Linked DNA regions of Homo sapiens: regions 1, 2, 3, 4, 5 and 6 are each linked to region 7. The links are contacts of gene promoters, found by promoter capture Hi-C in blood cells and fetal thymus (Javierre and others, 2016). All regions are on one chromosome and are shown on one strand. Each heading gives the region's core, a stretch centred on a gene start or on the middle of the fragment in contact. The rest is flanking DNA. Distances are from core to core; before and after follow the strand shown.

Region 1 (2,700 bases), core at 132-2,631, 570 kb after region 7:
AGGAATGCCCACGCCTTTCTTCCAAAGCCTTTGTCTCTGAGACCTCTTAAGTTCTAAGATTAAATGCCCCTCGCTGTTCTTCCTCTGAAACTAGTGTCTTCCCTCTGTGCGTGCATGTGTGTGTTTCATACCCAAGCATTTCCTATCTGGGGCAGTCCTTCACGGCGAGAAGGAGTTACCTGAGTCAATGTGACCAACCTGCTGGGTTTCAGCCACTCATCCAGCCTGACCTAAGGCTGTTGCTCAATAACAAATGGCCTCTAGCACACACAGCCCCACCCGCTGCCATCCATACCCCTCCAGCCCCCTGTGTGGACACCTTGTTCCCAGGCCAGCCCCACACAGTAGGCAGTCATTAAAGTTTGGTGAGTGCACCAACGGCTCTGTCCTTCCGGCTCTCCCCTCTCCATCCCCTCTGGGCCTCTGCAGCACTGTGTGAATTATACACAAAGACAAAGCTTGGGTGTCATGGTTTATCAGAGGAATGTGTCTGCTTTCTGGGCTTGGGGACTGGCAGTTGTGCAGCCAGCCAGGAACAGAGCTGGGGAAGATACCCTGAGCAGGCGACATCTTCCCTGAACTTACTGATCATCACAGCCAGAAGGGTCTTCAGAAGTCATCTCGTTTCTACCCCGTTACTCCCTTCAGTGTACAGAGGACAGAACTAAGGCCCAAGAGTTAAGGAAACATGCAAATTAGAAACAGCAAATTAGGAACAAACCTGGGAACTTGGAGCCAGGCCTCCTTGTACCATCACACACTCGCTTAGCTGAAACACAAGATGGCTACCGTCGGCTTGGCCATATCACCAGGTTTACAGTTTGGTTTAGCATGGTCCTGTCCTGATGGCCTTCCACACAGGGAAGCAGGGCCCACGCACCACCCACAGAGGTGAGGGCAAGAGCTGGCCTGGGTGCTCGACCTGACACCCTCTGGCCTTCCCATTCCAAGGCGAAGCCACTGGCCCCTCCTGCAGGACACACACATGATTTTACAGGGCCTCTCACCTGGTCCCTTAGTTCCCCTCGTGGCTATTGGAGCCCATTTTTACCAGGTGAGCGCAAAAGAGAACCATCCCTGGGCCCTTGTGAAGACTGGTGAGGAGAAGTCGTGCCTCTGCTTCCTGTGTTCTCTGGCACCCAGGAATGTTCTCAGGAGGCTGGAGATCAGCTGGAACAGACCTCCCATCTTGCCTGTCAGCTGGAGGCCTGCCCAACTCTGGGTTTTTTCACCGTGTGGGTACTATGCCCCCTACCCTGAAACTTTGGGAATTCCCAGGACAAGAACAACAGTCCAGTGTCCTATGTCCATATCCCAGCCCTGCCATTAACTGGCTATGTGGCCTTGAGTAAGTCCCTTCCTCTCCATAATATTAATACTAGGAGGGGGCTGGACTGGATTGTGGGCTCAGCTCATCAGATCACCCGGGGAGATTTTTTTAGGAACTACTGCTCTGGTAGTTCCCACTGCAGGCCTGTTGACTTGGAATCTCACTAGCTGGAGCTTAGCCTTCTAGATTTTGATAAAACTCCCCCAGCGATTCTACTGAGCAAGTGATCATGACCCACTAAGCCAGCTGACCACACTGGCACTGCTTCTGACCCTGACCCGCTGAGTGCCCACAAGAAGGTGCCCCTCTACTCAGGGCAGCTGTGTGCTATGCCCCATGTCCCCTCCATCCCCCACTAAGGTGCCATGGCATGGTCACTTAGGATTGCTAGGGGCACCCTCCCCTGATGGAGGGGTACGGATTGGGCTCTACTGTGCACAGCACCAAGAGTTGACTGAGCCCGGACTTGCTTCTGAGCTGCAACTGGGTCTGAAGCAAGCCCAGGCTCAGTCAACTCTTACTGGTTCCACTTCTAGCAGATGGTGGTTGGCACTGTGGGAGGGGGTGAGGTCCTGTGGACTGGTCGTCCCCTCAGCATTTCAAATAAGCATTCAGCAGTGACAGCAGCCAGTAGTGGGCAGTGTGGTCTGGGAATGTCATCCTCCTGCCCCTGCCAGCCCCTGGGGGCCCACAGACCCAGAAAACGAATGAGACCCTGCCCATCAGCGAAGCACACAGTCTAACTCAGAAGTTTTGCCACACACATTAGCTCACACAGCTTTACAGCAGACCTGGGCTGTGAGCAACTGAATAGGGTTGCTTTTGTTCCACAGATGAGGAAACAGAAGATGAGAGAAGTTAAGTGAGTTACCCACGATCACCGGCCGGTCAGGGCCGGAGCCAAGACCAAATCCAGGCTCTTGGCTCCCCTCCAGCAACAATTCTCACGTGTGTCGATACTCTCGTGAACAAACTGAAGCTTATTTTTTTATTTCCCAGTGAAGGATGATGGACGTTATATAGGTTTGTGAAGATGGAAATTTATGATTATTTTTAAAAGACTTTCAGCTTCCTTGCCACAGGGGAGGATTTGGGCTGGTTTTCTTAGAGGGGATTCAGCACAAGGTGACAGTCACCACTGTATGTTTCCAGAACCAGGGACTCAAACACCAGGGTTTGCGTGATTTTATCTTTACCCCGCAACAGCAACAGAAGCCGGTGGCGCCTGTAAACGAGTGAAGGTCACCTGTATATTTGTAAATACTTCCTGCCGGTTCAGCCTGTCATCGAGCATCGTACCTGCACACAGAGGGCAGCCCAAGACTAATTAGTAAATGGCTATAAAATGCTTTGAAGATGAAAAGAACCAT
Region 2 (2,955 bases), core at 274-2,773, 600 kb after region 7:
CATGATTAATACTGTTGAACTTTGTACTATAATTCCCATTAATAGGTCAAAAGAGGAAAAACAATTTGACTATCTAGATAGATGCCAAGAAACATATAACATCCAACATAGCTGCTTTAAAAAAAATCTCTTAGTAAAACTGAAATAGAAGTATGCTTCTTTGATGTGATTAAAAAATACCTGTGTCAGACCAATAGGCAGCACCATGCGTGATGCTGAAACACGAGGGATATTGATGTTCAACTCAGGCACAAGAAGAGGATGCCAGGATTTGCCACTATTGTTTAACATCATTCTGGAACTGACAACCGATGCTGTTGATTAGAGGCAATTACTACGAGGCAATGATACCCCAGTAGCAGTAAGCTAGAAAGCCCCAGATCTCAATTTTTAAATGCCATTCTCCTTAAACAAATTTATAAGAAAAAATCAAACAACCCCATCAAAAAGTGGGCGAAGGATATGAACAGACACTTCTCAAAAGAAGACATTTATGCAGCCAAAAAACACATGAAAAAATGCTCACCATCACTGGCCATCAGAGAAATGCAAATCAAAACCACAATGAGATACCATCTCACACCAGTTAGAATGGTGATCATTAAAAAGTCAGGAAACAACAGGTGCTGGAGAGGATGTGGAGAAATAGGAACACTTTTACACTGTTGGTGGGACTGTAAACTAGTTCAACTATTGTGGAAGACAGTGTGGCGATTCCTCAGGGATCTAGAACTAGCAATTCCATTTGACCCAGCCATCCCATTACTGGGCATATACCCAAAGGATTATAAATCATGCTGCTATAAAGACCCATGCACTCGTATGTTTACAGCGGCACTATTCACAATAGCAAAGACTTGGAACTAACCCAAATGTCCATCAGTGATAGACTGGGTTAAGAAAATGTGGCACATATACACCATGGAATACTATGCAGCCATAAAAAAGGATGAGTTCATGTCCTTTGTAGGGACATGGATGAAGCTAGAAATCATCATTCTGAGCAAACTGTCACAAGGACAGAAAACCAAACACCGCATGTTCTCACTCATAGGTGGGAATTAAACAATGAGAACACTTGGACACAGGGTGGGGACCATCACACACCGGGGCCTGTGGTGGGGTAGGGGGAGCGGGGAGGGATAGCATTAGGAGATACACTTAATGTAAATGATGAATTAACGGGTGCAGCACACCAACATGGCACATGTATACATATGTAACAAATCTGCACGTTGTGCACGTGTACCCTAGAACTTAAAAGTATAATAATAATGAGTAAATAAATAAATAAATGCCATTCTCCACTAAACAGAACCAGAGATCCTTGGAGAAAGGGGTGATCCCAGGACTGGAACAGAGATAATGCAAGATGAGACTGGAACATCTTTTTGTGTCAGAAAGTAAGGAAGTGCTCAAAGAACAACGCGGACATGTCAAAATGACACAGGAGTCTGCCTGAAGGGGCTCCTACTGACTAAAACTGAGAGAATTTGAGCATCAAAAGAAATAATTACAGTAACGGATCACAACGCTTTGACTACAGTGGAGATCCATGGGTCCAGATGGATATAAGTGAATGAATGAATAAATAAATGAGGGAGAAAGGAAAACTCTTACAGTAGAATGCCAGCTGATAAATGTAGAGTGAGTGACAGAAATAGTCACTGTTTGGCAACCATCATAATGGTGATTGATTAAGGTCAGAGTCATCAAACGATGCTAAGGCTGGTGGGCGAGATTTGATGAGGAACAGGCTTTATAGTCTTGGCATCTCCTCACCACATACCTATCAAATGCAAAGGGAAAGACGGTGAGTTTATGGTGGAGAAATCTTTCAGGCACCAACCTGACCTGGTGTCAAGGTTAACATCACTAATGGTGGGACAGGTCAGAATCATAAGCCCAATGTGTAATGCCCCGAGGAGAACATGGCATCTCTTCTGTGGCATCCTTGCCAAGAATGCCCAGCCCCAGAGTGGCAACTGACAGACTCATTTGGGGGGCCATATTCTACCAAATAAATGGCCCAAACTTTTGAAGACTGTCAAGGTCACAAAAGACAAGGAGAGATTGAAGATCTGTTTCCTATTCAAGGAAACTAATGAGGCATGACAACTCAACGCAGCTCAGAACCCTGACTTGGAACCTGGACCAGAAAGGCAAATGAGGCATCATTGGGACAGTTGGAGAAATCTGGATGGGGTCCATGGGTTGGAGGATGGTGTTAAATTAATTATGACTTCCTAATTTGGAGGATTTAATGATAGTAACAAGGAGAAGATGTTGTGTTGGGGAAATATAAACTGGAGTACTTAGGGGTAATGAGGCATCGAGTCTATAAATTGTTCTGAAATTCTCAAATGGTTCAGCAAAAAAAAAAAAAAACAAAAAAAAAACAGATGCAACTCTCTATACATATATACATAGGAAGAGAAAGAGACAGGAATAGGGAGGCACAGAGAGAGAGAGAAGGCACAAATATGGTAAAATGTTAACAATCAGAGAAACTGGGTGAAGGGGATATAGCAGTTCCTTGTACTGTTCTTGAAATGTTTCTGGAAGTTTAAAGTTATTTTAAAATAAATTACTAGTGAATAAACCTAACACCACCCCAGGTTACCCTGCAACTGGCTTTTGCACAGCTCTGCCAACAGGTGCCACTGCAAATGTGTGGTGCCCAATGCTCACGAGTGCTTTTACTTGTGGTCAACAGCCCCTTGCGTTCCTGAGACAGAGTTTCCAAACTTTTACCTCTGTCCTCGAGCCCCCACCTGTCTCTCTCCCCATCCTTTTTTGTCAGATGACCTAACCCCTATTTTTCAGAGCAAACATAGGCCAACCTGGAGAGTCTTCCCTGAATTTCCCTAACATGACAATTTGCAAATGCTATACATCAGGTTATTGTTGTTTTGGGTTTTGGGGGTTACTTGGATTTTTTTTTTTTAAGAACTG
Region 3 (2,700 bases), core at 18-2,517, 660 kb after region 7:
TCAGTATTTCTGACTTTGTGACGCCTACTTCCACCTTCTCAGCAGGGCTTCCTGGCACACAGATGTTTTCACAATGGCCCCTGAGATAATGAAAGACACCTCGGCATTGTGACACAGAGCTAAGGAGCTCTGGCCCATATGAGGCTGTCTCTGATGCCCAACCCTGGGCATTTGGTGACCAGCAGGTGTGCTCGGCTCAGCCCTGGGAGGATCTCCCTGTTTAGTGTCTCTGCTACTCTGGAACCCCACCTCCTCCTGTCCTCTCCTCTCACACCAGGGGCCGTGCTTCTGGCATTTCAGAGCCCCCAGCCTCATAACCACCACCCCAGAGCCAGCACTCCTTTCCTCCCTGGGCAGTAGGCCACACATGGGCCCTGGGAGCAGGTGTAAGAGGGTGACTGGTTGAGAGTGGCACTGGGTAGTGTGGAAACCCTGAAGGGGCCCTTGCCTGCCAGGCGCAGCTGGGAGATCCCTGAAGGGGCCACAAGGAATTGCCACTAGCACCGAAGCAGCCTCACCATGCGCCAGCTGTTCTATGCACTTAACACACAGCAGCCTATGTAGTAGACACTATCATTACCCTCACTTTAGAGATGGGAAAATCGAGGAAGGGGCTAAATAGCTGGTCCAAGGGCACACAGCTTGAGACTGACAGAACAGAGATCTGAGCCCATCATGGGAGCCAGCATGCCATTGGCACCCTGCAGATGGTACCCCCTAATCCAATCCCGCTCACCCCACCATCTCTCTCTGCCACAGACAGATCTGTTATATCTGCAGCTGCATCCTCAAGACATGTGCTGTCTCTCCAAGTCAGGACAAGCTCATGAGGTGGATGGCCACTGGTTGAAGTCCCTCAGCCTGCTTTCCCCACCAGCGGGCCCAGCACCCCCACCTAACCCACGCCTGGCCCTGGCTTGGATACCATACCCTTCAAGGATTTTATGCAGAGCACCTTGCTGCCAGGATGACCTGGGCCAGGTCTGTGGCCACTTGCCTGGGGCACCTCTTGGAGATCACTTGTCGACCCTTAGGCACCAGGTCCAGGGTCAGGGTCCCTGGGAAGCTCCCTTGGCCCCAAGTCCTATTAGGCTGCCTAAGTCTTTTCTGGAACTTAGACCTGCCTTGGGGCAGAACTGGTGGATGGGGCCATAAGAAGCCCAGAAGTGTCTGGGGATAGCGTGGGGAGGGTGTTCCTCCAGCTCTGGCCCTACCCCTCCCAGCCTGCATCTGCTGCTCTAACGGTAGACCCTGCCCCAAGCCCCTGCCTCCTTTTCTCATGCTTCTCATCCATTCCGGACCCTCTCTCCTCCCATAAATCATACAGCCAAGGTTCATTTATACCCAGTGAGGAAATGCCTACAAAACCGCTCAGCTTGGGGCCTGGCAGCCTGCGGCTCCAGGTAGGAGCTTCCCTTCCCTTTGCCTTTATCTCTCCACGTGGCTGGCCATGGTCAAGTGGCAGATTCCTACCTCCAGCCTCTACTCCACATCACCTACACTGCCAGATAAAGGGCAGACTCCTTTTGAGCCGTGGTCATCTGCAATACTTTTCTCCCTTCCCTCTACCTGGAGAACTCCTTCTTCTCCGGAAGAACTCAGCAGAAGTGTCACTTCCTCCAAAGCCTTCCAGGGTGCCCCAGGCAGTGGGCGGCTCCTGCCCCAGTGGCCACAGTGCTCTGCCCACACTGCCTAGAATACTTACGGAGAGCTTTTGGTACTGGCGATTTATTTGATGACTCTAGCCGGGGCCCCACAAAGATGAGTACATGTGTCTTCTTTTTTTCTTTGGATTACTTACCAAAAATTTTTAAAAATCGTAAAAATAATTAATGAACAAGACGCATGTTATAAAAAATGTTTTTAAATGCACAGTGTGAAGCCCCAGAAAATGCCATGGTTAATAGTTTTGTCAGTTTCATTCTGTCTGTATTTATTTTCTCTGTAGAAATTTATTTGATTTTTTTTACATAAACAAGATCGATCTATATGCATTTGTCCTACAGCTTGCTTTTCTCACTTTATAATACATTGTGTGTGTGACAGAGTAATGCTTCCCCAAATATGTACACATCCTAATCCCCCAAATCTTTGAATATGTTATCCTAAATGACAAAAGTACCCTCGCAGATGTCACTGAATTAAGGCTCTTAAGATGGGAAAGTTACCCTGATAATCAGGGAGGGTCTGATATAATCCTGTGGATCCTTAGAGAGGCAGGAGGGCCAGAGAAAAATTTGAAGATGCTATACTGTTGACTTTGAAGACGGAGGAAGCGCCCATAAGCCAAGGAATGCAGGCAGCCTCTGGAAGCTGAAAAAGGCAAGAAATGGACTCTCCCCTGGAGCCTCCAGAAGAAATGCAGCACTGCAGATACCTTTATTTTAGCCCAAGGAGACTCTTGACTTATGTAAACAGCACACATTTATGGTTCTAGGATCTCCTAGAACCATAAGGTAATAAACTTGTGTTTAAGCTGGTACAGCTGTGGTAACTTGTTATAGCAGCAATCAGAAACTAATACAGTGTGAGTATACAATGGAGGGAAAGAATGTTGATGGTGGTAGTAGTTAGCATTTATTGCGTATTGTATGCCAGATACTGTTCTAGTGCTTTATGTGGTGTATTAATCTACTAAGGCTGCCACAACAAAACACCATAGACCAGAGGCTTAAACAACAGAAATGTATCCGTGCAGAG
Region 4 (2,809 bases), core at 2-2,501, 640 kb after region 7:
CAGGAGACAGAGGAGCTGGAGGAGGAGAAGTCAGGCCTGCAGAAGGAGATTGCTGAGCTGCAGAAGGAGAAGGAGAAGCTGGAGTTCATGTTGGTGGCTCACGGCCCAGTGTGCAAGATTAGCCCCGAGGAGCGCCGATCGCCCCCAGCCCCTGGGCTGCAGCCCATGCGCAGTGGGGGTGGCTCGGTGGGCGCTGTAGTGGTGAAACAGGAGCCCCTGGAAGAGGACAGCCCCTCGTCCTCGTCGGCGGGGCTGGACAAGGCCCAGCGCTCTGTCATCAAGCCCATCAGCATTGCTGGGGGCTTCTACGGTGAGGAGCCCCTGCACACCCCCATCGTGGTGACCTCCACACCTGCTGTCACTCCGGGCACCTCGAACCTCGTCTTCACCTATCCTAGCGTCCTGGAGCAGGAGTCACCCGCATCTCCCTCCGAATCCTGCTCCAAGGCTCACCGCAGAAGCAGTAGCAGCGGGGACCAATCATCAGACTCCTTGAACTCCCCCACTCTGCTGGCTCTGTAACCCAGTGCACCTCCCTCCCCAGCTCCGGAGGGGGTCCTCCTCGCTCCTCCTTCCCAGGGACCAGCACCTTCAAGCGCTCCAGGGCCGTGAGGGCAAGAGGGGGACCTGCCACCAGGGAGCTTCCTGGCTCTGGGGGACCCAGGTGGGACTTAGCAGTGAGTATTGGAAGACTTGGGTTGATCTCTTAGAAGCCATGGGACCTCCTCCCTCATTCATCTTGCAAGCAAATCCCATTTCTTGAAAAGCCTTGGAGAACTCGGTTTGGTAGACTTGGACATCTCTCTGGCTTCTGAAGAGCCTGAAGCTGGCCTGGACCATTCCTGTCCCTTTGTTACCATACTGTCTCTGGAGTGATGGTGTCCTTCCCTGCCCCACCACGCATGCTCAGTGCCTTTTGGTTTCACCTTCCCTCGACTTGACCCTTTCCTCCCCCAGCGTCAGTTTCACTCCCTCTTGGTTTTTATCAAATTTGCCATGACATTTCATCTGGGTGGTCTGAATATTAAAGCTCTTCATTTCTGGAGATGGGGCAGCAGGTGGCTCTTCTGCTGGGGCTGACTTGTCCAGAAGGGGACAAAGTGCAATACAGAGCCTTCCCTACCCTGACGCCTCCCAGTCATCATCTCCAGAACTCCCAGCGGGGCTCCCTGAGCTCTCAAGGAGATGCTGCCATCACTGGGAGGCTCAGAGGACCCTTCCTGCCCACCTTCGGAGACGGCTTCTGGAGGAACGGCTTGGCCAGAAGACAGGGTGTGAGTGAGACAGTGGGGCACAGGTTGGGTTTGCCAAACGCCTAATTACCAGGCCAGGAAGCATGCCAACAAAGCCACACGGGTGTCCTAGCCAGCTTCCCTTCACCTGGTGTCTTGAGTAGGGCGTCTCCTGTAATTACTGCCTTGCCATTCTGCCCCTGGACCCTTCTCTCCGGACCAGGGAGGCGTCCCTCCCTAGGAGCCACACATTATACTCCAAGTCCCTGCCGGGCTCCGCCTTTCCCCCACCCTGGCTCTCAGGGTGACGCCACCCACAGAGATTTAATGAGCGTGGGCCTGGACCTTCCCCAGATGCTGCCAGGCAGCCCCTCCCCAAGCCTCAAAGAAGCATTTGCTGAGGATGGAGAGGCAGGGGAGGGAGGCGGGAGGCCGTCACTGGAGTGGCGTCTGCAGCAGCTGCTGCCCCAGCACCCGCTCAGCCTGTCCTGGCTGCTCACCTCCCCGCAGGGCACCGGGCCTTTCCTGCCCTCTGTGGTCATCTGCCACCTGCTGGATCAAGTGCTTTCTCTTTTACACTCCCCTGTCCCCACCCCAGTGCACTCTTCTGGCCCAGGCAGCAAGCAAGCTGTGAACAGCTGGCCTGAGCTGTCGCTGTGGCTTGTGGCTCATGCGCCATTCCTGGTTGTCTGTTGAATCTTTCTGGCTGCTGGAATTGGAGATAGGATGTTTTGCTTCCCACTGCAGGAGAGCTGCCCCCTTTCACGGGGTTGGGGAAGGGTCCCCCTGGCCTCCAGCAGGAGCACAGCTCAGCAGGGTCCCTGCTGCCCACCCCTCTGAGCCTTTTCTCCCCAGGGTATGGCTCCTGCTGAGTTTCTTGTCCAGCAGGGCCTTGACAGGAATCCAGGGAGTAGCTCCTGGCCAGAACCAGCCTCTGCGGGGCTTGTGCTCTGCAAAGACTCTGCTGCTGGGGATTCAGCTCTAGAGGTCACAGTATCCTCGTTTGAAAGATAATTAAGATCCCCCGTGGAGAAAGCAGTGACACATTCACACAGCTGTTCCCTCGCATGTTATTTCATGAACATGACCTGTTTTCGTGCACTAGACACACAGAGTGGAACAGCCGTATGCTTAAAGTACATGGGCCAGTGGGACTGGAAGTGACCTGTACAAGTGATGCAGAAAGGAGGGTTTCAAAGAAAAAGGATTTTGTTTAAAATACTTTAAAAATGTTATTTCCTGCATCCCTTGGCTGTGATGCCCCTCTCCCGATTTCCCAGGGGCTCTGGGAGGGACCCTTCTAAGAAGATTGGGCAGTTGGGTTTCTGGCTTGAGATGAATCCAAGCAGCAGAATGAGCCAGGAGTAGCAGGAGATGGGCAAAGAAAACTGGGGTGCACTCAGCTCTCACAGGGGTAATCATCTCAAGTGGTATTTGTAGCCAAGTGGGAGCTATTTTCTTTTTTGTGCATATAGATATTTCTTAAATGAAGCTGCTTTCTTGTCTTTTATTTCTAAAAGCCCCCTTATACCCCACTTTGTGCAGCAAAGATCCCCGTGCAGGTCACAGCCTGATTT
Region 5 (2,877 bases), core at 288-2,787, 720 kb after region 7:
AGTGCAGGGGGCCAGAGGAGCATGAGGTCAGGGCATCTCTTTCACTAGGCCAGAGAAGGCCCATTGTAGGAAGAAATATTTCAACTGAGACCAGAAGGAGAATTAGGGAGGTCAAGAGGTGGGAAGGGTACTGACACAGTCTGAGAGTTCTGGGCAGAGGGAACAGCACACATTAGGGCTGCCAGGATGCAAAAAGGATGACATTTTTAAGAATATGATGGAGCCTCAGTGAGCCTGAGGTCAGAGAAGATGGGCCAAGTGGGACTTGAAGCTGGAGAGAGGAGGGAGCACAGGGCCTTGTAAGTGACACTACAATGGCTGGACTTGATCTGCAGGGCAGTGGGAAGCTGGTGAGGGTTTTATACAAGGGTGTGACATCAGGTTTGCCCTTTGACAAGATTGTTCAGGCTGTTGTGTGTGAAAACGAAAAGACTGGAACAAGCGTGTGTAGACATGGAGCAGCTGGGCAGCTGTTCAGGGGAGCAGGGACAGATGCCTGGGCCCATCTGGGGGCAGTGGAGATGGAGAACAGTGAGTGGTTTCATGAGCCACTTTTGTCATATCCGATGGGGCTACAAATGAGTCAGGGAAGATCATATGTTTGGTTCTTAACTCCTTGAGTTTGAGGTGCCTCTGAAACATCAAAGTGGAGACTTAGTCCATGAATGAGTTTATGGGGTTTGAAGCTTAGAAGAGAGGTCCGACTGGAAATTGAAATGGGGGAATGGTCAACATAGATTTTTAAGTAAACAATGGGGTGTATGTGGTCACCTTGAGAGACAGGTAGAAAGAGGAGGCTCCAGACGAACTTCAGCAGCAGAGAAGGAGCTGGCAAAGGAGGCCAAGAAGGAACTGCTGGAGAGAAGAAACCAGGAAACTGGAAGCCTGGAGGCCAAGGGCAAGTTGTCCAAGAGTAGGGGCCGAGGTTGGCTGTGAAATGCTGCTGAGATGGCAAGTAAGATGAGGTCTGAGGACCTCATTGTTTATTGGATTGAACAAATTACTGACCTTCAAGCAATTCTAGTAGTGTGGTGGGAGCAGAAGCCACATTGAAGGGTAGGGACAAGTAAGCAGAAGGTGTTTTAGAAAGGTCACCCTGGTGATGGATGCTGACCCGGAAGGGATTGTACACAAATTCAGGTAAGAAATGTTAAGGTGCACAGAACTCAGAGTCTCAGGATGACTAAGGAAACATGGATCTCAAGGTCAACAGAGAGGAACAATTGGAAACTTGGTCTGAGCAGCTCTGTCTCAGAAGCAAAGAAGAAAGTGAGTAGGAGGTAGAAGGAGGCATCCAGGCTTCCCACAGAGACCACGCTGAGATTCCAGCCACTCTCTGGAGAGCCGTGTCCCTGGATGCTCCTCCTCCCACATACTCCTAGAAGGCCTCTGAGAGTCAGTTAAGGACCATACCCAACTGAACAAAAGTGATGCGGTGTTGTGTCTTGGGTTAAGAGACACAAGTTTTTGCTGCACAAAAACTGGATTGAAAATCTGGCTTTCCCACCCGCTCTCTGTGTGGCAAGTTTCTAAACATTTTTGTGGATTATAAGACAGAGTCTGTTTCAGAAAGATTGTACTATGAAAATATGCAGGGATTAGAATGGAGAAGATGTGGAATTTGAAAATTCTGTTTCCTCAAGTTTTCTCTTTGGGTGCTAACCTTGCAGTTACAAACAAAGCCCTTACCGAATCCATGAAGGAAGAGAGGAACAGGGCATGGCGGCTCATGCCTGTAATCCTAACACTTTGGGAGGCTGAGGTGGGTGGATGGTTTGAGCACAGGAGTTCGAGATCAGTCTGGGCAACATGGTGAAACCCCGTCTCTATAAAAAATACAAAAATTAGCCTGGCATGGTAGCACACACCTGTGGTCCCAGGTACTTTGGAGGTTGAGGTGGGAGGATGGATTGAACCCAGGAGGCAGAGGTTGCAGTGAGCCAAGTGAGCCAAGATTGAGCCACTGCACCCTAGCCTGGGTGACAGAATGAGACCCTGTCTCAAAAAGAAGAACGAGAAGGAGGAGGAGAAGGAGGAGAAGGAGGGGGAGGGGAGGGGGAGGGGAGGGGGAGGAGGGGAAGGAACAGGAGGCTGCAATGTCAGCTAGTGGTGCCCAGAGGCAGAGGTGGTAGGCAGTCCCTCAGGATGGAGCCAGCTGAGATGGTAAACTCAGGGCTGTGCCCAGTCCAGCTCGATGTCCCTATGGCTGGAGGTCAGCACAGATCTCTCTACCTAGCCAGGCCTAGTGGCCAGTCTGCATCAGGGCCCTGGGGACAGACGCCAGTCCCAGTCTCACCTCATCTTCTCCTGCCTACTCTTATACCACCACCCTCTCCCCAGGGAGTGCCATCAAGGTAAATAGTGGGACTGCGTAGCTGGGAGAGCAAGCAAGCTTGCACATCATTGCCAAAGCTATTAACACCCACGTGCCAGTGTCTGATGATGTTGACAGCTCAGCCCCAACAAGCTGATGACACCATGCCATGCCATCCCATGCCACGCCACCTCAATCCCCTGTTACACAGCCAAAGGCTCAGAGGCCCATTCCAGAGTGACTGCAGTGAGGATAAAGAGATTTCCCCAGCTGGTAAGTTGCCATGGCTGGGGCTAGAAAGGCTGTCTTTCCTCCCTGGACCCCTTGTCCAGTGGAAGCTTTTCTGGGCAGATGATCTCCTCTGAACACAGGCCAGGGGGATATATGGGGTCAGTGCCTGATGCTTGGGGCTGTTGGAGCCAGGAGCCTCCCATTGTGGTCTGGAGCACATGAGATTCCCAGGGAAAGACTAGGAGCCTTTGGTTATTTCTTTTGGATTTGAAGGACAGATTATAGCTCCCATGGACAGAATGCAAAGGGAATTAAGTGAGGGAAAGATTAGC
Region 6 (2,708 bases), core at 45-2,544, 980 kb after region 7:
GAGAATATAGCAATTGTTAAGAATGCAGACTCTAGCACTGCATGCTCTGCTGTTTATTTGTGTTATTTGGGCTAGGTTTTTTAACCGTCTGTGCCTCGGTGAATCCCATCTACAAAGTAGAGATAATAATAGTACCTACCTCACAGGGCAGTTGTAAGGATTAAATGAGGTAACCCGGGTGTAACATTTAAAACAGTGGCAGAGTACATACAGGGATCTGAACAAATGTTAGCTACTATTAGTGATATGTGAGTGGGGGAAGCACACTGCCTTGGACTTGAGGCAATATCAAGTCTGAGTTTCTGGAAAAACACTTGTGGAATAAGTAAGGGCTGGCCACCTCCTAAAACCGGACAAAAGATCTGGCTTGCCTAGATCCTTAGCGTGACTGCTTCTCCTCCTGCCTTTCTAGAGGCAGTATTACGTGATGGAAATACTTGGTGGGTGCTGTGGGCACAAAGATAAGTTAATGTGTTTTTATTCCCTAGGAGCTGAGTCGAGAGTAGGAGAAAAATGCATAAATAATTACCAGGTAGGATGATTAAGCAATATACTGGAGGCAGCAACAGAAACACACCGTGGAAAAAAAATACCCACGGCGTGGATGAAGATATGAGATGTGTGAAAGCGCTAGACACAGGCAGCCACCTGCACCCATGTAAAATTGGATTATTGCTGACTCCTACAAGGCCCACTTTAACGCTTCTTTCAACCAGAATCCCTGCAGAACTAATTTTGTAGAACCGCCGGGGATAAAGACCTTTATTTGCAATGTCGAACTCCAGCAGAGTAACCCCTTTTGCTTTCCACACGCGCAAACCCGGGTCCCAAACGCTGCAGTTCGCGTTTCCCGGCTAACGGAAGAAACACGAGGAACTGTTTGCAGATCTAGGGGATGAAGCCAAAAAACGGAAAGCGAGGCCGAAAGGGCGCAACCACCACGTCTGGAGGAGGCCAGTGAAGTAGAGAAAGGGGAAGGTCAGCCCTGCCCCAGCGCGCTCTGCGTAACCGGGACTTCCTCCGCGCGGCAAAGCCGGGGAACCTCCCTGGCGCCTGCGCCACCGTGGCGAGACTCGGCGCCGTGGACGTGGAGAGAGGGCGACGCACCTGCGCGAAGACGGCAGCGGGAGAAGCCGCTCCAGTGCGGTTGCGCGGCGGCCCAGGCGTCGAGGGGAGCCTCGGCGGGGAGCGCACCGCGCGCCTGCGCGGAGAGCTGCGTGACGCGGCGGCGCGCAAGGGACGTGCGGAGTGAGTGGCGCTGCGGGTGGGGCCGTCGGCGGCGCTGGTGAGCTTTGCGGAGCTGGGCGGTGCCGAGGAGGAGGAGGTGGCGGCCTGGGTCTGACGCGGCCCTGTTCGAGGGGGCCTCTCTTGTTTATTTATTTATTTTCCGTGGGTGCCTCCGAGTGTGCGCGCGCTCTCGCTACCCGGCGGGGAGGGGGTGGGGGGAGGGCCCGGGAAAAGGGGGAGTTGGAGCCGGGGTCGAAACGCCGCGTGACTTGTAGGTGAGAGAACGCCGAGCCGTCGCCGCAGCCTCCGCCGCCGAGAAGCCCTTGTTCCCGCTGCTGGGAAGGAGAGTCTGTGCCGACAAGATGGCGGACGGGGAGCTGAACGTGGACAGCCTCATCACCCGGCTGCTGGAGGGTGAGTGCGCGCCTGGCCGCGGGACAGAGGGAGGTCGGGCACCGCCGCCGACCCCTGCGTCCCCGTCTGCCGCCGGAACGCGAGGGGACCCCTTTCCCGCCCCGAGACGAGTCTCTGGGAGCGCGGCGCGGCGGACGAACCGAGGAGGGGGCGAGGAGGCTCTGGGCGCGGGGGAGCGGCCTCTGGGAGCGCGGTCAGGGGAGATCGGGGGAGAGGGGGCCGTTCCCGCGGACCCTCGGGGGCCAGGCCCGCCGGCCGAAGGCTGTGCGGAGCGGGTCTGCGGGAGACAGCCTTTCGGAAAGGCCGCCGGGCTCCGCGCGCCGTGGTGCTCGCCTCCGGTGACCCGAGGATGGGGAGAGGATGCCTGCCACTGGGCTTTGTGCGTCCGTGGAATCACTGTTCTTCTCTGTTCTCTTTGTGCATTGCCCTTGGCTGCCTCCGATTGTCGTTCCGGGAGTGAATTTTACGTATATATATATAAACCTGTCCTTAACAGGACTGCTTCGTCTGCTCTGCATTTTTACACAATGCTATATAGAATGGATTCTTCTTAAAGAGAGGATAAAATTAGCGGGAATTAATCTACCGTTTGTTACTTGGCCTAAAAAAATTGTAAGACAAGATATTTGATCAGGTTGAAGATGCACCTAAGAAATGTGATGTATGTAGATGGGTTTGCTGAAGGGATTGGCTTTTGCATTTGATTTGAGCAGAGCTTAATTTCTGCACAAACTTAGTGAAAATCTATTTTTAAAGCCTGTCTTGTATTCGAAAGGTATTTGTAGGTCTACGCAGCATTTGAACTTTCCGGGCTCAAGTGTTCTTATTGAATAGTTTTATGTTGGTGGGAAGGCAAGGGGGGAAAACGAAGAGGTGGACTAGCCGGGAGTTAAATGTATTGATTCATTGCAGGATATTATTCAAAGTTAAATGCAGTCTTCTGCCAAACAGTCCCTCTACCCTAAAGTTTTCGTCATCAATAATTGTTTTGTGAGTGTGTAGAAAAGCCTTTAATCCTTTTTAAACAATTTAGAGGCCTCTTTGTTAGCCGCCGTCCAGCGATTGCA
Region 7 (3,060 bases), core at 276-2,775:
ATAAAGAAGAGTAAGGAGAATAGAGTTGGGGGCAGGGGCATGGAGTTTAAGAACTGCTATTTGGCTGGGCTAAAGTTAAAGTGACTTTCTAAGGGACAGAACAAGGACTAGAAATCATGTTCCTTGGCTTCCAGTCTTGTGTTTTCTTATAAATCCTCTAAAGGAAATATAAGAAACCTTATCCTCTTGAACATCTGAAGCTCTTTTTTGCCAATGCAAGGTAAGGAAGGATTTCGGCACCTGGAAGGTACTCAGTAGCTGGAGTCCGGTTATGGGAAGATAAATATCAAGAATGATTAGAAGGAAAAAAAGTATTATAGGTACTAAGGAGAAGGACGGTCTTAATTTAAAAAATTGAATTGTATTGTATGGAGAGCTGATTTTTTTCCTCCTCATCTTCTTTGTGATGGCACAGAGAGCTGAATTTTCTTTAAAACAGTTTTATTACTTTTTTTTTTTTTTTTTTTTGAGACGGAGTCTCACTTTGTCGCCCAGGCTGGAGTGCAGTGGCGCTATCTCGGCTCACTGCAACCTCCGCCTCCCGGGTTCAGCTAATTTTTGTATTTTTAGTACAGGCGGGATTCCGCGACGTTGGCCAGGCTGGTCTCAAACTCGTGACCTCAAGTGATCTGCCTGCCTCAGCCTCCCAAAGGGCTGGGATTACAGGCGTGAGCCATGCGATTAAATCTTATTTCACATCTGTAAGACTTCATATGTAGATACAAATCACGGATTAGGAAAAAAATCCAAAAGTCCTGATTATTAGTTGCGAAATGAGGTTACTGACGAGGTCCTTGGTGTTAGAGGAGCCCAGGTTCCTTACAGAGCCATGAAAAATTAATGATTGCAAACTGGTAGGTCCCAATGTCTACTGGGAAAGGCATGAGTCTTTGGAGTCAGATAAAATCTAGGTTTAAATTCTTACTCTGCCACCTGGTAGTTCTGTGATATTAGGCACGTGATGTGAATGCTCTCAATCTGTTATTTGGCTTCTATGTCAGGAACTGTGCTAGGTGTTTGGATACAGAAGTTTGAGATGCAAAGGGTCCTGCCCTCCTAGAGATTGGGATAACTAAGGAAAGGTGGGGTTCTTAATGCCGAAGGGACTCAGAAGAGTGAGAGTAAGGCTTAACCAGGCGGAGAGGGAGTTGGGTCGGGGGAGGCAACATTTTAAGAAAATATGCGAGGGGCTGATACGCTGGAGCGGCCGAAGTACAATACACAGTTGTTCTTGTGGGTCTAATGCAGGTGGTTGCGATTATTTCGTGAAACAAATATGGAAAGCACCTAACGCTGAAAGCACTTGACCCAGAAATAGGAGTCAGGGCCGGGGCGCGAACCCTGAGCTGTAAATCCCTTTCCAGAATGATGAGGATTCCAACCTCCAGCACGACAAAAGCAAAACACACTCGCTCTGAGAAACCGAGGAACGAGCCAGACGACTGGAGGCAGGTTCCAGGCGGGGGGCGTGGCCTCGGGCGACTGCCGGATGTCCTCTTCCAGAACCGGGCCGTGCCCCGGAAGCAGTTGTTGTTGGTTGGGGGCCTTTTGGCCGGTGACGGAGACTGCCCAGGTGTGGTCACCATGTTCCTCTCCGCGGTCTTCTGTAAGTGGGGCTGGAGACGCCGGTAGGGGTTACGGCGAGGGTTAGGGGGCCGTGACAGGCAGGGCCCCGGAATGATGCGGGGAAGGATGTGCGAACAGGACGGGAAGCTGCAGCTGCGTACTTTTCCAGGCCTTCAGGACCACAGCGTCCGGCATGCCCCGCGGCGCGCCTCCCTGCGCGGACCTGTGGGTGCCTGAGAAGGGGTCTGCGGTGTCTGGATTCAATTGCCGTCCTCACGGACCGTTGAGTCTGGCTGTGGGGCGTTTTTCTCCAGCCCGTGTTAGGAGAATCTTTGTCCGAAGGACCTCAGAATTTGCAGCCCACCTATTTCGAACTCTAAAAATAAGGAAACCGCTCCCGAGAGGGGCAATGAATTGCCTGAGTAATGCGGCAGGGCAGTTAAAGAAGTCCTCGGGCTCCCGAGTCAGTGCTCTTCTTTACCCTTGGCTGACTTCCCAGTTAGATTTAGTATCTGGTTTTCACCACATGTGATGGTTGTTGTAATTTGCAAAGGTTAAACTTGTCAAACAAGAAGCTTGCTGCAGCGCGAATACTTGCACCTTAGAAGAGGGAAAAAATGGAGCAGGTATTACTTTAGAAAGATTTAAAAGGTAGCCAGTCCAACAGTCATGAAATTATGCAAAATATTAAATCTAGAATTGTGTTGGTCTGATTGGATCTTTTAACCTTCCTTCTATAAAATCCTAAGGGGATCCCTAATAGATAGGGAATAGTTACTTGAGTGACACCTCATGGCATATTTCATAAGTTAAATATTTTTGGTTATTACTGATATTTATATGAACTTTGCATAAGAAAGAGAATACATTTATATTTTTATTTTCTTTTCCAACCCTTCCTGTCTACAAAAAAGTTGCCAAGAGCAAGTCAAAGTAAGTAAAGATTTTTCCTTTTTTAAACGTCACTTGTTTATGTTGGATTTGTTAGTCTAGCTGCTCCCAGTACATCCTTATATGAAATTAAGCATTGGGCCTTGATTTCCTAAGAGTTGGTTTGTGGATTACTTAGTTGATTATTTTTTCTTTATGAACTCTTTCAAAAATATTTTCCCTCCTGCTGAACTGAGCTACTTCTGTGAGCATTGAAATACTTGAAGGAACCTTTGCTGCTTTTCTAGTCCCAGGATTTGTGAGCTCACTGTCTGTTTCTAAACAAACCATTGGGCTGTGCTGTATTTGGACTACCACCATATTTCCATTTCCTCAAATCGAGGACCAGGGGCCATGTGTCTGGAGCTCACTACGGGAATCCAGAAGAACAAACTCTGCTTTGATTAAATCATAGTCTGTTTTAATGAGTTTTGTAATCCTTTGCATTCATGGTATAAGCATTTCAAAAATAGCCAAGATTAAAGATTCCATGCTGTACCAGAGAGACTAGAACTACCAAACTTGTATTTCAAAATAAATGTTGTAGACAATAACAGAAGATTT

What was found. Contacts are between HindIII fragments. The CHiCAGO score rates a contact against its expected background, and 5 or more counts as called.
Region 1: a fragment that was not itself captured here is called in contact with the fragment with the promoter of MRPL33 in region 7 in 4 of 17 cell types (endothelial precursors, megakaryocytes, monocytes and 1 more); the score reaches 6.6 in endothelial precursors.
Region 2: a fragment that was not itself captured here is called in contact with the fragment with the promoter of MRPL33 in region 7 in 1 of 17 cell types (M0 macrophages); the score reaches 5.8 in M0 macrophages.
Region 3: a contact is called between a fragment that was not itself captured here and the fragment with the promoter of MRPL33 in region 7, in 8 of 17 cell types (megakaryocytes, monocytes, erythroblasts and 5 more). The highest score is 6.3, in megakaryocytes.
Region 4: a contact is called between a fragment that was not itself captured here and the fragment with the promoter of MRPL33 in region 7, in 14 of 17 cell types (megakaryocytes, endothelial precursors, M0 macrophages and 11 more). The highest score is 15.8, in megakaryocytes.
Region 5: a fragment that was not itself captured here is called in contact with the fragment with the promoter of MRPL33 in region 7 in 1 of 17 cell types (M1 macrophages); the score reaches 8.7 in M1 macrophages.
Region 6: the fragment with the promoter of PPP1CB here is called in contact with the fragment with the promoter of MRPL33 in region 7 in 1 of 17 cell types (fetal thymus); the score reaches 5.9 in fetal thymus.

What each region holds. Positions count from the first base shown.
Region 1 is chr2:28,338,812-28,341,511 of GRCh38, forward strand. It overlaps BABAM2 (BRISC and BRCA1 A complex member 2), which reads left to right. Exons shown (of 12, transcript NM_199191.3): 12 at 1-90. Among named protein-coding and RNA genes, the nearest start is that of BABAM2-AS2, 30 kb to the left of the region's middle. RefSeq lists an enhancer at 1,159-1,778. The HindIII fragment of the contact is 1,851 bases long and covers 457-2,307 here.
Region 2 is chr2:28,371,020-28,373,974 of GRCh38, forward strand. No RefSeq gene overlaps it. Among named protein-coding and RNA genes, the nearest start is that of FOSL2, 20 kb to the right of the region's middle. The HindIII fragment of the contact is 7,642 bases long and covers 1-2,955 here.
Region 3 is chr2:28,430,909-28,433,608 of GRCh38, forward strand. No RefSeq gene overlaps it. Among named protein-coding and RNA genes, the nearest start is that of FOSL2-AS1, 38 kb to the left of the region's middle. The HindIII fragment of the contact is 4,706 bases long and covers 1-2,700 here.
Region 4 is chr2:28,411,927-28,414,735 of GRCh38, forward strand. It overlaps FOSL2 (FOS like 2, AP-1 transcription factor subunit), which reads left to right. Exons shown (of 4, transcript NM_005253.4): 4 at 4-2,809. The coding sequence ends at 522. Among named protein-coding and RNA genes, the nearest start is that of FOSL2-AS1, 19 kb to the left of the region's middle. RefSeq lists enhancers at 1,115-1,719, 1,720-2,324. The HindIII fragment of the contact is 7,288 bases long and covers 1-2,809 here.
Region 5 is chr2:28,486,149-28,489,025 of GRCh38, forward strand. No RefSeq gene overlaps it. Among named protein-coding and RNA genes, the nearest start is that of PLB1, 8.5 kb to the right of the region's middle. The HindIII fragment of the contact is 1,706 bases long and covers 685-2,390 here.
Region 6 is chr2:28,750,536-28,753,243 of GRCh38, forward strand. It overlaps PPP1CB (protein phosphatase 1 catalytic subunit beta), which reads left to right and starts at 1,295. Exons shown (of 8, transcript NM_002709.3): 1 at 1,295-1,641. The coding sequence starts at 1,590. PPP1CB-DT (PPP1CB divergent transcript) reads right to left here and starts at 1,221. Exons shown (of 5, transcript XR_007086259.1): 1 at 1,108-1,221. RefSeq lists enhancers at 708-917, 1,221-1,865 and silencers at 1,048-1,237, 1,728-1,947. The HindIII fragment of the contact is 5,134 bases long and covers 1-2,708 here.
Region 7 is chr2:27,770,194-27,773,253 of GRCh38, forward strand. It overlaps MRPL33 (mitochondrial ribosomal protein L33), which reads left to right and starts at 1,526. Exons shown (of 4, transcript NM_004891.4): 1 at 1,526-1,606; 2 at 2,481-2,499. The coding sequence starts at 1,585. RefSeq lists enhancers at 1,168-1,287, 1,521-2,337, 1,578-1,707. The HindIII fragment of the contact is 2,472 bases long and covers 1-2,139 here.